Linked DNA regions of Homo sapiens: regions 1 and 3 are each linked to region 2. Evidence: promoter capture Hi-C in 16 types of primary human blood cells and fetal thymus (Javierre and others, 2016). All regions are on one chromosome and are shown on one strand. Each heading gives the region's core, a stretch centred on a gene start or on the middle of the fragment in contact. The rest is flanking DNA. Distances are from core to core; before and after follow the strand shown.

Region 1 (4,128 bases), core at 221-2,720, 430 kb after region 2:
TATCTCCAAAGACTCAGTCACTTCCTCCCACTGAGCCAGCCGCCAAAGAGGGGACCGATGTGTGTGTGTGTGTGTGTGTGTGTGTACCCATTCTCCACCTCCCCCATCAACGGTCCCTAACACCGACATCACTAACTTTGCTTAAGGAAGATACTGGATGCGAGGAGGGAAAGGGCTGGAAGGGACTTGGCTCGCCGGAGCCGCACAGCCATGTGACAGACATGCCTCTTGTCACACACATCTAGCACACTCCAGCTCCGTGCGTGTGAGCACACACACACACACACACACAATCCCACGTGCCAGGCAGGCCTCCCCAACCTCCGGCCCACCACTGCCTCAGCCGCCACCCTCGTGGCATGCGCTCTCCTTCCCTCCCTCGGAAGCAGTCCGCAGGAAGCCAACACAGGAGGCCAGACATGGCGGCCTCGGCACACCCGGGGCAGCAGAGACACAGCGGCAGGGGCTATCGGGAAGGCCGAAGGGATGCCTCCCCCAAGAACAGACCCCACCATTCTCCTCCCGTCCTCCACCCTCAGAGCCCGGGCAGGACAGCACCTAGGGCCTGGGTGGGACAGCCTGGCCTGGGCACGGGTCTGGGTCAGGACCTCTTGGAGGCCTCCACCCCAGCTGCCCAACACCCACCATTACCCCTGATGCCAGGCTGGGCCTGGGTGGCTAGGAGCGAAGCCCCCACGGGAGCGGCTAGGAATAGAAGAACCCCCAGGAGGGACCCGGGAGCCTGGAGCAGGGGCCCAGCCTGGCCCCCAAAAGTGGTGGAGCGGTAGGACCTGGGTGCACCTGGAGTCAGGACCAGTACAGGGCACGGGCAGGGCCGCAGGCAGCCCCTAAAGCCCGGAAGAAGGAGAGAGGAAGAGGATCCCTGATTAGGCAGGTATTGAGCAGCTTCTCCCATGAGGCAGTCAGGGACCCCAGCCCAGTAGAAAGGCCTCTGAGAACCCCTTAGGCCAGGGGCCACCCCCAGGGCCCAATGTCACCCACTTGTCACCTGTTCCCTGGTCCTGGAAACCCACGTGTCAAGCAGCAGCTCCAGGCGCAAGCGGTGGAAAGCCCGGGTCGTCTTCACTGCAATGAAGACATCGTGTAGCTGTAGCTTAGGGGGCCCCGGGTTCGGCTGGCTCAGCTCGGGGGTCCCTTGTACCCGCTGCGGGGACAGGTTCAAGTGGTACCGCAGACACAGGAGCCCCATGCACAGGAGGGTGAGGAGGGCTCCAGCCAGGCCCCGCGGGAGCCGGCACTGCATTGGTTGGCCCTGGGACCCCAGACAGCTCAGCCCCCAAATCCCAACCAGACAGGGAGGGGAAGCTGGTCAGGCAGGGGCTCCAGCAGAGGCAAAAGTCTGGCAGGCATCAGGGGCTGGCAAGGAGGGAAGAGGTAGGAGCTGAGGCTCTGGACCCAGAGGCTGAGCCATGGCAGCACGATCTCGACCGCCGCCAGTCCTCCACCTGCTCCCGCTGTCCGGCCTGCCGCAGCCTCCGGGACCGCCTGGCCCCGCCCCGCTTAGCCCGAGGGGCGGGGCCAGACGAAGGGAACCCCAGACAGAGGCGGCTGAAAGGAGGCACCAGCAGAAAGGGCAGCCCCGGCTCTGCCAGCTGCTGCGGTGGGAGGAAGTCACAACAAACCCTCCGTGCCCGGTGGAAGGGAGTGTCCTCCAGCACCGTCCACTCCCCCAGAGAGCTGTCAGCTCGGCCCATTCAACACCCATTACTTTGGTGTCCTGCTTCACCCAGCCCCCAGCTTTTGCTCACAGGTTTCCTCCGGGATGCTCTCCCATATTCCACCAGCCTCACCCACATTCCCTCCACTAGGCTGAGTTCTATCTGGACTTCAAAGCTTAAGGGTTCCCTCCTCCAGGAAGCCTTCCGTGATAACCTCTTAACCTCTGGGGCTCCCACAGTTGTTCGCTCAGTTCCTGAGGTCTTCACAACAGCACTGGGACTGTCGTTCCCAGTTTATAGCTGAAGACATAAGGCACAAAGGCACAGAATGAGCAAAAACGATCCAGCAACTCAGCCGCAGAGCTGGCAGAACCCAGGTCTCTGTTCCTCATCTAGTTCACAGGAGGTCCCCTGAGGGCACCTGTCCAGCTGTGCCCCAGCCCATACCCGACCTCACTCCGCAGTCTCTGGAGCTGCCTCTCTCCCAGCACCTGACCAGTGGACAGACAGAGGGCCTTCTCCAGCCACCACCTCCATCTTGTTTCGCACAAGCTCACTCACACCTCCTCCCTCCTCCACTCAGAGCCTGCACTGGCTCCCATTTTCTTCAGAACAAAAGCCAAAACGCACACAGCAGCCCACAAGGCCCTGCGTGAGCTGGCTCCCAAGTTACTCCCACCCCATCTCCTGCTACTCACCCTGCTCCACTCCAGAACCTGGGACCCTCGCTGGCCCAGGCACCTGGCCGCCACAGGACCTTGGCACTTGCTGTTCCCACCTGGGCCCCTCCCTAGAGACCTGCACGTCTCACTCCCCCACTCCCTTCTGGTCTTTACACAAAGGTCACCGTCTCTGTGAGGCCTTCCCTGACCACGTTATTAACATTGCAACCCCTCGCCGCCTCCTTCCCAGCCCCCCAGGCCTGTCCCTCTCAAGCCACTTCACTGTTTTCTTCATCACACTTTTCATCTTCCAACATTCTGTATGTTTAACTAAGTTTCTGTCCTCCTCATGAGAATATCAGGGCAGGATTTATTTTTTGATCACTGAGTCCCTAATCCCCAGTGCCTAGAACAGTGACCGGCAGACAAGAACTCAATCAATGTTAATTCAACACAACAAAGTACCAGGTGGCTGGCAAAGGGAAGTGGCCCTGCCGGGCTCAACCCTGCATGAGGACAGCTGGGGGAGAGGAAGGGAAAACCAACCCTTTGAATGACCTTCTCATGGGCCAGCCCCCAGCCAGGCCCCTTCACAGGCCATATTCTCAGAATGGTGATGATGCCAGCCTTGGTGATGATCCCAGACTCTGTACCCCACAGACCAGGTTTAAATCCTGACTGGGGGCTGGGCGCCATGGCTCACGCCTGTACTCCCAGCACTTTGGGAGGCCAAGGCAGGCAGATCACTTGAGGTCAGGAGTTCAAGACCAGCCTGGCCAACATGGTGAAACCCCGTCTCTACCAAAAATACAAAAATTAGCTAGGCATTGTGGCAGGCACCTGTAATCCCAGCTACTAGGGAGGCTGAGGCAGGAGAATCACTTGAACCCGGGAGGCAGAGGTTGCAGTGAGCCGAGATGGCGCCATTGCACTCCAGCCTAGGCAACAAGAGTGAAACTCCATCTCAAAAAAAAAAATTCCCAACTGGGCCACTCACTGGCTGTATGACTCTAGGAAAGTTACCTTCATCATTTCTAAAATGGGGACAAAAATATGACTTGGTGACGATTACAGGATGAGTGGGCTTCTCCACCCCACAGAAAGGATGCTTGACACGGGGAACAGGCAAAGGCAGCCAAGTCACAGGCCCCTGCCTTTCCCCAGGCCAAGCACTGGGCCAGGCTCACTGTGGGGCAGGGGGAGGTTCATGTACCCAAATGCACACAGCCCAGTTTCCATGCCCAGGAAGCCACAGACATCGAGAGACAGCCACACAGACACCCTCGTCCCACCACAAGGCAGAATATGGCATGGGCCAGGAGAAGTCCCAAGGGCTGGGAGGACCTGGTGGTGGGTTTCATGGAGATACGTAATATCTCAGCCAGGCTTCAAAGATCAGGAAGATTCAGGCAGGGAGAGCAGCCCAGGCAGGGGCCACATGAGCAGAGGAGCACAGCTAAGGGTAAACTGAAAGGCCACTGCCACTGCCCGCGGTGGGGAGGATGTGGCTGGGGGGATGGGAGAGTCAACACCTGGGAAGGCCTGGAGTAGAAAGCGGCATTGCCGCTGATTCCCATGCAGGGAGGCTGCCCTTCCCCCAGGGCACCGCCTTTGCCACTCAGGGTCCAGCTCCCCAGCCCCTACCCCAGTGGTGACAGACTGGCAGGCCTCCAAGTCCAATCTGCACCTTGTCAAAGACACCCTGTCGTAGAGAGTGGGAAGACCTTTTCCCAAGCAATGGCTCAGCCCCAGCCACACGTGCTCACCTAGCCGTGGCCAATCCGTAC
Region 2 (4,108 bases), core at 1,550-4,049:
GACGGAGTTTTGCTCTTGTTGCCCAGGCTGGAGTGCAATGCCGCAATCTCAGCTCACCGCAACCTCTGCCTCCCGGGTTCCAGCAATTCTCCTGCCTCAGCCTCCCAAGTAGCTGGGATTACAGGTGTGCGCCACCACACCTGGCTTATTTTTTATATTTTTGGTAGAGACAGGGTTTCATCATGTTGGCCAGGCTGGTCTCGAACTTCTGACCTCAGGTGATCCGTCCTCCTTGGCCTCCGAAAGTGCTGAGATTACAGGTGTGAGTAACTGTGCCTGGCCTGGGCTCCCCCTACTCTTGACCCAGATGTAGGTGGTCTTCTAACTGGTCTCTCTTCTAACTGGTGCTTCAAACCACCCTCCCAGCAACCTAAGGGTGATCCACATTGCAAATCTGACCGTGTCACTCCCCTGCCTGCCACCCTTGCGTGAAAGAATAAGTATCTCCTGCTCTAGTTTTGCTTTAGCTGACAATGGTCAAGGCCTCACTAAGTGCCAGCAGTCCTGCCAGTCTTTCAAGGCCACTTCACATCCCATCTCATTCACCCATTCATGCATTCAACATAGTAAATGCCAGGGACTGTGCTAGGTGTTTTTTTTTGTTTTCTTTCTTTCCTCCCTCCCTTCCTTCCTTCCTTCCTTCCTCCTTCCCTCCCTCTTTCTTTCCCTCCCTCCCTCCTTCCTTTCCTCTCTCTCTCTCTTTCTTTGACGGAGTCTCACTCTGTCACCCAGGTTGGAGTGCAATGGCATGATCTTGGCTCACTGCAACCTCTACCTCCCGGGTTCAAGTGATTCTCCTGCCTTAGCTTCCTGAGTAGCTGGAACTACAGGCGTGAGCCACCATGCCCGGCTAATTTTTGTATTTTTAGTAGAGAAGGGGTTTCACCATGTTGGCCAGGCTGGTCTCGAACTCCTGACCTTGTGATCTGCCTGCCTCGGCCTCCCAAAATGCTAGGATTACAGGCGTGAGCCACCGGCTGTTTTTTGGTTTTCTATCGTTTTATTTTTTTAAAATAGAGATGGGGGCCAGGCGCAGTGGCTCGCACCTGTAATCCCAGCACTTTGGGAGGCCAAAGTAGGAGGATCACTTGAGCTCAGGAGTTCAAAACCAGCCTGGCCAACGTGGTGAAACCCTATCTCTACTAAAAATACAAAAATTAGCCAGGCGTGGTGGTGCATGCCTGTCATCCCAGCTACTCAGGAGGCTGAGGCATGAGAATTGCTTGAACCCAGAAGGCAGAGGTTGCAGTGAGCTGAGATGGTGCCACTGCACTCCAGTCTGGGTGAGAGAGTGAGACTGTATCTCAAAAAAGAAAAAGAGAGAGAGAGAGAGAGAGAGAGAGAGAGAGAGAGAGATAGGGGTCTCACTATGCTGTCCAGGCTGGTCTTGAACTTCTATGCTCAAGCGAGCCTTGGCCTCCCAAAGTGCTGGGATTACAGGTGTGAGCCACCGCACCCAGCCTACGCTAGATGTTTATAGACATTTCATAACTTAATCTTCACAGCAATGCTCTGGGGTCACAACTGTTGTAAATCCCATTTGGCAAGAGAGAAAGCCAATCTCAGAGAGGAAGTTGCTCAGGACACACCTAGTGAATTTTAAGTAGCAGGATTCCAGTACACCTTTGATCCACTCCCTGCCAAGGAGAAAAGCTTTATGCAGAAAGCAGGGCATTGGGTGGTAACAGGGAAACTTCTCCCAGCACAGGGCCAGGCTGCCCAGTGTTCGGGCCAGCTGCGTGTGACATTGGATCAGTGAGAGGAGCCCCAGACCTCTCCCCCATAGGCCAGGACCAGGACTGAAACCAGTAAGGAGAGGAAGCTAAGGAGACAGCTTCCTCGTCAGCCCTTGTCCCTCCCTGGTCCCGGACCACATGAGGAACTGCTCCCTTCCCCCATCCTGAGGTCCACAGAATGACGGTTCCCCTCCGAGTTAACTGGGGAATAACTCAGAAAGCCACCCGCAGAACCAATCCCTCCTCCTTCTTAGGGAGGACGTGGAAAAACTGAGAAAGGCCAAAAGCCAGAATGGAAACTCAGTTCTCCTGACTCGGATCCAGGGCGTGCTCTACTCTTCCTCCTTAGAAGTCTTTCCCAAGGATCCCTGACATTCCATGGTCAGGGAGCAGGAAAGAGACCTTGGTGGGTACTCACTCACCAGCAATGTGAGTAGGGCGGTCACTTCGCTTCTGTGGCTTCATCTGTAAAATGGGTATAGCCCAAAATACCAGACTCACAGGGCTGCTGAGAGCTTAAATTCATAACACATATACACAAAGTGTCTGGCATACAGGTGCTCAGCCAACCTCAAGTCCAGCTATGTCGTTCTCCAAGAACTCAGGTGAGGGAAAGAACCCACTCCCACCCACCCCGCCCCCACCCCTATACACACAAAGGGCAAATGAAAAAATATGACGAAACACATGCGGGTCAATGCTATGGGGATTCCTGGAGGGGAAAGTTTCTTCCCTTATCAGCTGTTGGACGACGGAGACGGCACAAAGGAAAAACAAGAATGCTCGGACCCATGGGATGACTGCAGATTTGGGGAAGCCCTCATTCTTTTCCCAGAGGCCGGGAGTTCGACCTTCCCCATACACAGTGATTTGGCCAGAGGGCATCTTCACCACCCCAGACTGCGGGCCTGCGGGGAAGGGCGAAGCGGGGCGGGACCGGGGGCGGGAGCAGCGCGGGGCGGGACCCTACCCGCGGCCCACGCGGAGCCAGGAGGCGCGGACTACAGCTCCCGGCCTGCCCCGCGTGCGGTCCCCGCCCGCCCCCAGCGCCCGGGAGGAGGATGCAGACGCCGCGGCCGGCGATGAGGATGGAGGCCGGGGAGGCAGCGCCGCCGGCGGGGGCGGGCGGCCGCGCCGCAGGCGGCTGGGGCAAGTGGGTGCGGCTCAACGTGGGGGGCACGGTGTTCCTGACCACCCGGCAGACGCTGTGCCGCGAGCAGAAGTCCTTCCTCAGCCGCCTGTGCCAGGGGGAAGAGCTGCAGTCGGACCGGGTGAGGCCCCCGGGGTGGGCGGCGAGCGGGCGGTGGGTCCTCCGCTCGCCCGACGCGGGGCTGTCGGGCCTGGCTCGCCCGCCAGGCTGGGGACCCGGCCGGGTTCATTTCCGAGGAACTGGAGGCGGGAAGAAGCGGCAGGAGGAGGGGAGGGGGAGGTGGGTCTGGTAGTGAGGGATGTACCCATTGCCGTGGCAACGGGACGACGCAGGCCGCGGCCATTAGAAGCTCTCCAGCCGCCCCGGATCGGGGCCTCTCCTTCTCCTTTGGGGCTGTGGACAGGGAGAGACCTGGGACCTTTCCTCCCTCCCAAAGGGGACTCCTGCTCTGGGGAAGGAGTCGACGAGGCTACTTCTCCCGCTCTTTGGGATGTGGGTGGCGGAGGGGTGCAGGGAGCTAGCTGGATGGAGGAGCCCTGGGGCGCCTTCTGAGCGGGCTGAATCTAGAAGGAGCGTTGGCCCAGCGGGCACTATTTCTGAGCACCCACCCTGACTCTGCTGCACACTGCCTGCCGCGACCTTGAGTCGGACCCTTCCCTGCACTGCGCTCAGCCTCCTTCCTCATCTGTAACACGAAGGGCTGGTCTGAAGATGACCTCTAAGGTCTCCTGTCCCCCATCCGTGACCCTCCGATGCTGTGGCCTTTGGCAAGTCGCCTCACCTCTCAATGTCTCCGATCTCTCTGTAGAGTCGCATGGAAGCCCACCCTGCCTCCCTGCCCGCCCGAGTGTCCAGTGAGATAGTGACTCCTTTGGAAACTTGTAAACATCCCCTGAAAGCCTAGGGACCTGGGGGCGACAGTGGGGCTGGCTTCAGGGGACAGCCTCTCAGAGGGACATTCTTCGAGCCCTGTGCTGGGCCAGTTGCCACTCAGACATCCTCTCACCGGATGCTCACAGCAAACCCTGATTAGGGGGAGAGGAGTGAGTTTCAAAGAGGCCAAATCATTAGCCTAAGGTCACACATTCAGGAAGAGTCAGAAGCAGGGCTTGAACTCAGGTCCATCTGACCCCAGTGCCTTTTTGCTACTTTGTGCCTGCTCCATCCAGGGAAGAGCTCTCCCTCCACTCTCCTTCCCTCCCTGTGCGTGTGCGGGGTTGGC
Region 3 (3,746 bases), core at 696-3,195, 380 kb after region 2:
GGGGGGAGCAACCTCCGACAAAACTGTCCCAGTGACGTCACCTGCGGCCTGGAGCTTATGTCACACCTGAGGTTCTCACTGACCTCACATACATACTTTTTCCTGATGTCCCCACAATTAACACTCTTTCTTCCTGCCTAGGCGTTGATGGCCCAGAGGTACCCACCTCCCCACCCACACAGTTGCAGGGCCCCCGGCTCATCAGGACAGCACCTGCCTGTGCACCCCTCTCAGGGGACACACATGCCCACATGCTTTGCTGATGGCCCAGACGTGACACGTCCCACAGGTGTCCACGGGCCACGAGAACAGGGGTGTCAGCCATGCACATACACATACACACACACACACACACACACACACACTCCCAGTCCCATCTCATGATGCAACTTGCATATTAAAACGCCTCTCGGTAACCGCGCCGGGCAGTCCGCGCCCCACAGCTTCCACCACATTCCTCCAGGTGCTGCCAGCACCCCACTCCCTCCAGCTTTCTGACTCCGACAGCCTGGCCTGCTGATAGCGACAGCCGCAGCCCAGACACACACACACACTCCAGCCCAACACCTGCGTCTCAGCAAGGGACCAAGGCAGTGCCCTCCAGCCGCAGCTGCTGGGTGGGAGGAGTCCAGGGGGAAGGGGCACAGCACAGAGCCCTGAGCTGCAGAAAGTGCCGAGTACCACGTTCCTCCCCAGCTGAGTGCACGGTCAGCACCACTGTCCCCTTCTCGTCTCCCTCCTTGGGCACGCCTGACACACCATGGCCTGTGGCCTCTGTTTTGGACACAAGCTCCCCGAGTGTGCATGCACACGCGCGCGCGCGCACACACACACACACACATCAGCTCCCTTCCCTCCAAACATTCCGAGGAAATCCTGCCAGGCCACTGACAGTGTGCGTGTGTGCGCTTGTGTGTATACAGACAGAGAGCAGGGTCCACCCCATGTCCACACACACACGCACACACCACACACACACAGCACGCACAATCCTCTCCACATGCACACGGCGCCCCACCAGCCAACACACCCACCCCCTCCCCGTCCCCTGACAGCTGCTGGAGCCCACACACGCACGCACACACACACACTGGCACGCGCTCGCACACACACACAAACACACACACACACACACACCCGGCAGTGGCCCCGGCCCTGCCAGAGCTGCAGTGTCTGCGATTTATGCCGCCTCCCTGGGCTGCCTCCCTCCTTGTCCCTGGCCAGCGCCTCTGAAAGGGTCCCCACCCCCCAATTCTGGTCTTACCAACCCCACCGCCGTCAAGCCCCACCCTGGCCCCCCTTCCCCTAGAAGGCATCCACCCCGTCAACCCCTCTTACCAGCTAGAGGATGAATGCCTTGACCCGGCAGCACCCCGTGAAAGAGAGGGGTTAGGGCCCCCGATTCGAAAAGATGAGGGCAGAGAGGTGCAGTGTGGCACCGGCTGGCACACCGTCCACCATCGAGCCTCTGCACCACCCCCAGAAACGCTCACCTCACCGACCGTCCTCGGTGTCCTCCCACCGCCTCCGCCCACCGCCACCACCACCACCTCCCTCGCGCAGGGTGGTCCCCCGGGGGTCTCACGGGGATCCCCAGACCCAGGAGACACTGGGGGTGGCTCTCCCCGTCTCATCCCCCCTTCCGTGTCCCTCTCCAAGCCCCACCCCCACTGACGGAGGGGGTGCCCTCCGGCTCCAGCCCCGACTCCCACCGTCTCCCCGGTCGGTCGGTCGCGGCGCTCGGATCCAGAGGAATTCACTTACCCCAGCCCCAGCCGGGATCCGGGCCAAGCACCGCCTCCGGGAAGCGGCGGCCGCGGGGCCTGCGCGTGTGAGTGTGAGTGTGAATGTGAGTGTGAGCGCGGGTGTGGGTGCGGGGTGCGTGGCCGTGGGGTGGCCCGCGTGTGTCTGTGTGTGTGTCTGGGAGCGCGCGTGTGCGCGCAGACGCCGCCGCCCCCTCCTCCCCGCCGCCGCGCCTCTGCCCCTGCCTCGGCGGGGAGGGCGCCCGGGAGGGGCCAAGCGGCGCGCGTCAGGGACCGCGGCAGGCTGTGTCCGTCTGTCCGTCCCCGTCTGTCCGTCCGCCAGCCCGCCCGCTCCCGGTGCCCTCCGCAGGCCTTTCCGCAGCAAGCCCGCTCCCGCCCCCGAGCCGGCCGCACGCTCCACGGACACACGCGCGCTCGCAGACACACGCCCGCGGGGCTGGGGCCGCGCCTGGCGCCGCCGCTGCAGCTGCAGCGCCCGGGGAGGCGAAGGCGGCCCCACGGACCCGAGCCCCGGCCTGGCGGACCCCTGTCCCGGCCGCGGCCCCCTGCGCTGCTCACCCCGCGGGATCCGGGTCCGGGTCCGGGTCCGGCCTCCGCCAGCGCATTCAACAGCTGGGGGCAAACTTGCGGCGGGGCCGCCCGAAGTGCGCCTGGACTCGCCCTCCCCCTGGACTCCGCCTCCGCTGATGGGCCCCCTCTCCGCCTTGTACCTCCATGCCCTGCCGCCTGCGCCCTGCTGGTTGGTCCCGCGTTCAACCGCTGGCGACTGGGGAAGTGCGGCTGCTGCGTTCCCATTTTACAGGCCAGACAACTGAGGTTCGGAGAGGAGTGATTCCCCCAAGGTTACACAGGGAGCCTACAGACAGTATTAGACTTTACGCTCCCCTACCTTGTGCCAGGGCACTCACTGCCTTTCCCCACCCCTCCAGGAGTAGGTCCAAGGGATACTGGGCTCATCTGTAGCTAGAGAACCTTCATTAGCCTTCCAGAGGCCCAGTTCCCCGCCCCTTACGCCAAAGCCCCTGCCACCTGCTGCCACCTGCAAAGGGGTGGATGCTGGGAGGAGGAGGAGGAGGTGGAAGATGCAAGAAGCCTGGCACCCGGGGCCTATAACTTGGTGCTTGGGCATGCAAGCACCTCCTCCCGAGGCCCTGCGAGCTGCATGTCGGAGGCCTGCTGCCAGCAGGCCCTGTACTTCTCCATCACTTTTATAGGACCGCATGCACCAGCGCCTGTTCTCAGGTGTTGCACAGCAGATGAAGTCCAGGCTGCGGGAACTCCCCGTCGGGACATCTCATGCAGGTCTGGAATAAGGAGACTCCCCAGAAGAAGCCACTGCCTGAGCTGAATCTTGATGGATGAGTAGGAGTTGGCCAGCTAAAGAAGGAGGAGAAGGGTGTCCTGGACTCTGGGAACAGCATGTGCAAAGAGGCACAGAGGCATGAAACAGCTTTGTATGTGTGTACAGGGAACTCCACGGAGTTGGGTATTAGTAGAGCAGAAAGAACGTCTGTCCAGAAATTCCTCCCTCCTTTCAACTAAGAACAGGGAACGGCCCAGGATGGGGCTGGGAGGGCAGACAAGCACTGGGTCACAGGCCACTTGTTGTCCTGGGGTATGCAGAAGGACTATTGGGCGTTCCCCACCTGCACCCCAGGCTGCCTGGCACACTCCTACCCATCCTTCAAGGTCCCTCGCTGCAAACCCAAACAAGCCATGTGCTGTCTCTGCCCTCTAAACTGAGCCCTCCTACAGGGCAGGGGCGGTATCCAACACATGGTGTGTATCCCTGACAAGGCTGGGCAAGAAGCAGGGTCCCAGCTCCAAGACCTTGCTGGAAGAGCCCCTCAGGCGGAACATAACGGCCTCTGCGCCCTCTGGCGGATCCCTCGAGAAATTAGAGTGCTCCCCAAGCCAACAGCCCCCCTGTGGCTCTCAGGCCCAGACACTTTCTGAGATGGGCACTGGCAGATGCCACCTAAT

The links. Contacts are between HindIII fragments. The CHiCAGO score rates a contact against its expected background, and 5 or more counts as called.
Region 1: the fragment with the promoter of MFNG here is called in contact with the fragment with the promoter of KCTD17 in region 2 in 1 of 17 cell types (activated CD4 T cells); the score reaches 5.3 in activated CD4 T cells.
Region 3: a contact is called between the fragment with the promoter of ELFN2 here and the fragment with the promoter of KCTD17 in region 2, in 4 of 17 cell types (activated CD4 T cells, naive CD8 T cells, non-activated CD4 T cells and 1 more). The highest score is 5.9, in activated CD4 T cells.

Annotation. Positions count from the first base shown.
Region 1 is chr22:37,484,914-37,489,041 of GRCh38, forward strand. MFNG (MFNG O-fucosylpeptide 3-beta-N-acetylglucosaminyltransferase) reads right to left here and starts at 1,471. Exons shown (of 8, transcript NM_002405.4): 1 at 1,010-1,471. The coding sequence starts at 1,264. RefSeq lists enhancers at 356-415, 816-865, 1,342-1,851, 1,852-2,363, 2,364-2,873 and 1 more and a silencer at 1,436-1,565. The HindIII fragment of the contact is 3,313 bases long and covers 1-1,852 here.
Region 2 is chr22:37,048,943-37,053,050 of GRCh38, forward strand. KCTD17 (potassium channel tetramerization domain containing 17) reads left to right here and starts at 2,800. Exons shown (of 9, transcript NM_001282684.2): 1 at 2,800-3,007. The coding sequence starts at 2,819. RefSeq lists silencers at 2,592-2,901, 2,912-3,031 and enhancers at 2,968-3,685, 3,686-4,108. The HindIII fragment of the contact is 2,809 bases long and covers 1,652-4,108 here.
Region 3 is chr22:37,425,534-37,429,279 of GRCh38, forward strand. It overlaps ELFN2 (extracellular leucine rich repeat and fibronectin type III domain containing 2), which reads right to left and starts at 1,946. Exons shown (of 3, transcript NM_052906.5): 1 at 1,765-1,946. The HindIII fragment of the contact is 18,273 bases long and covers 1-3,746 here.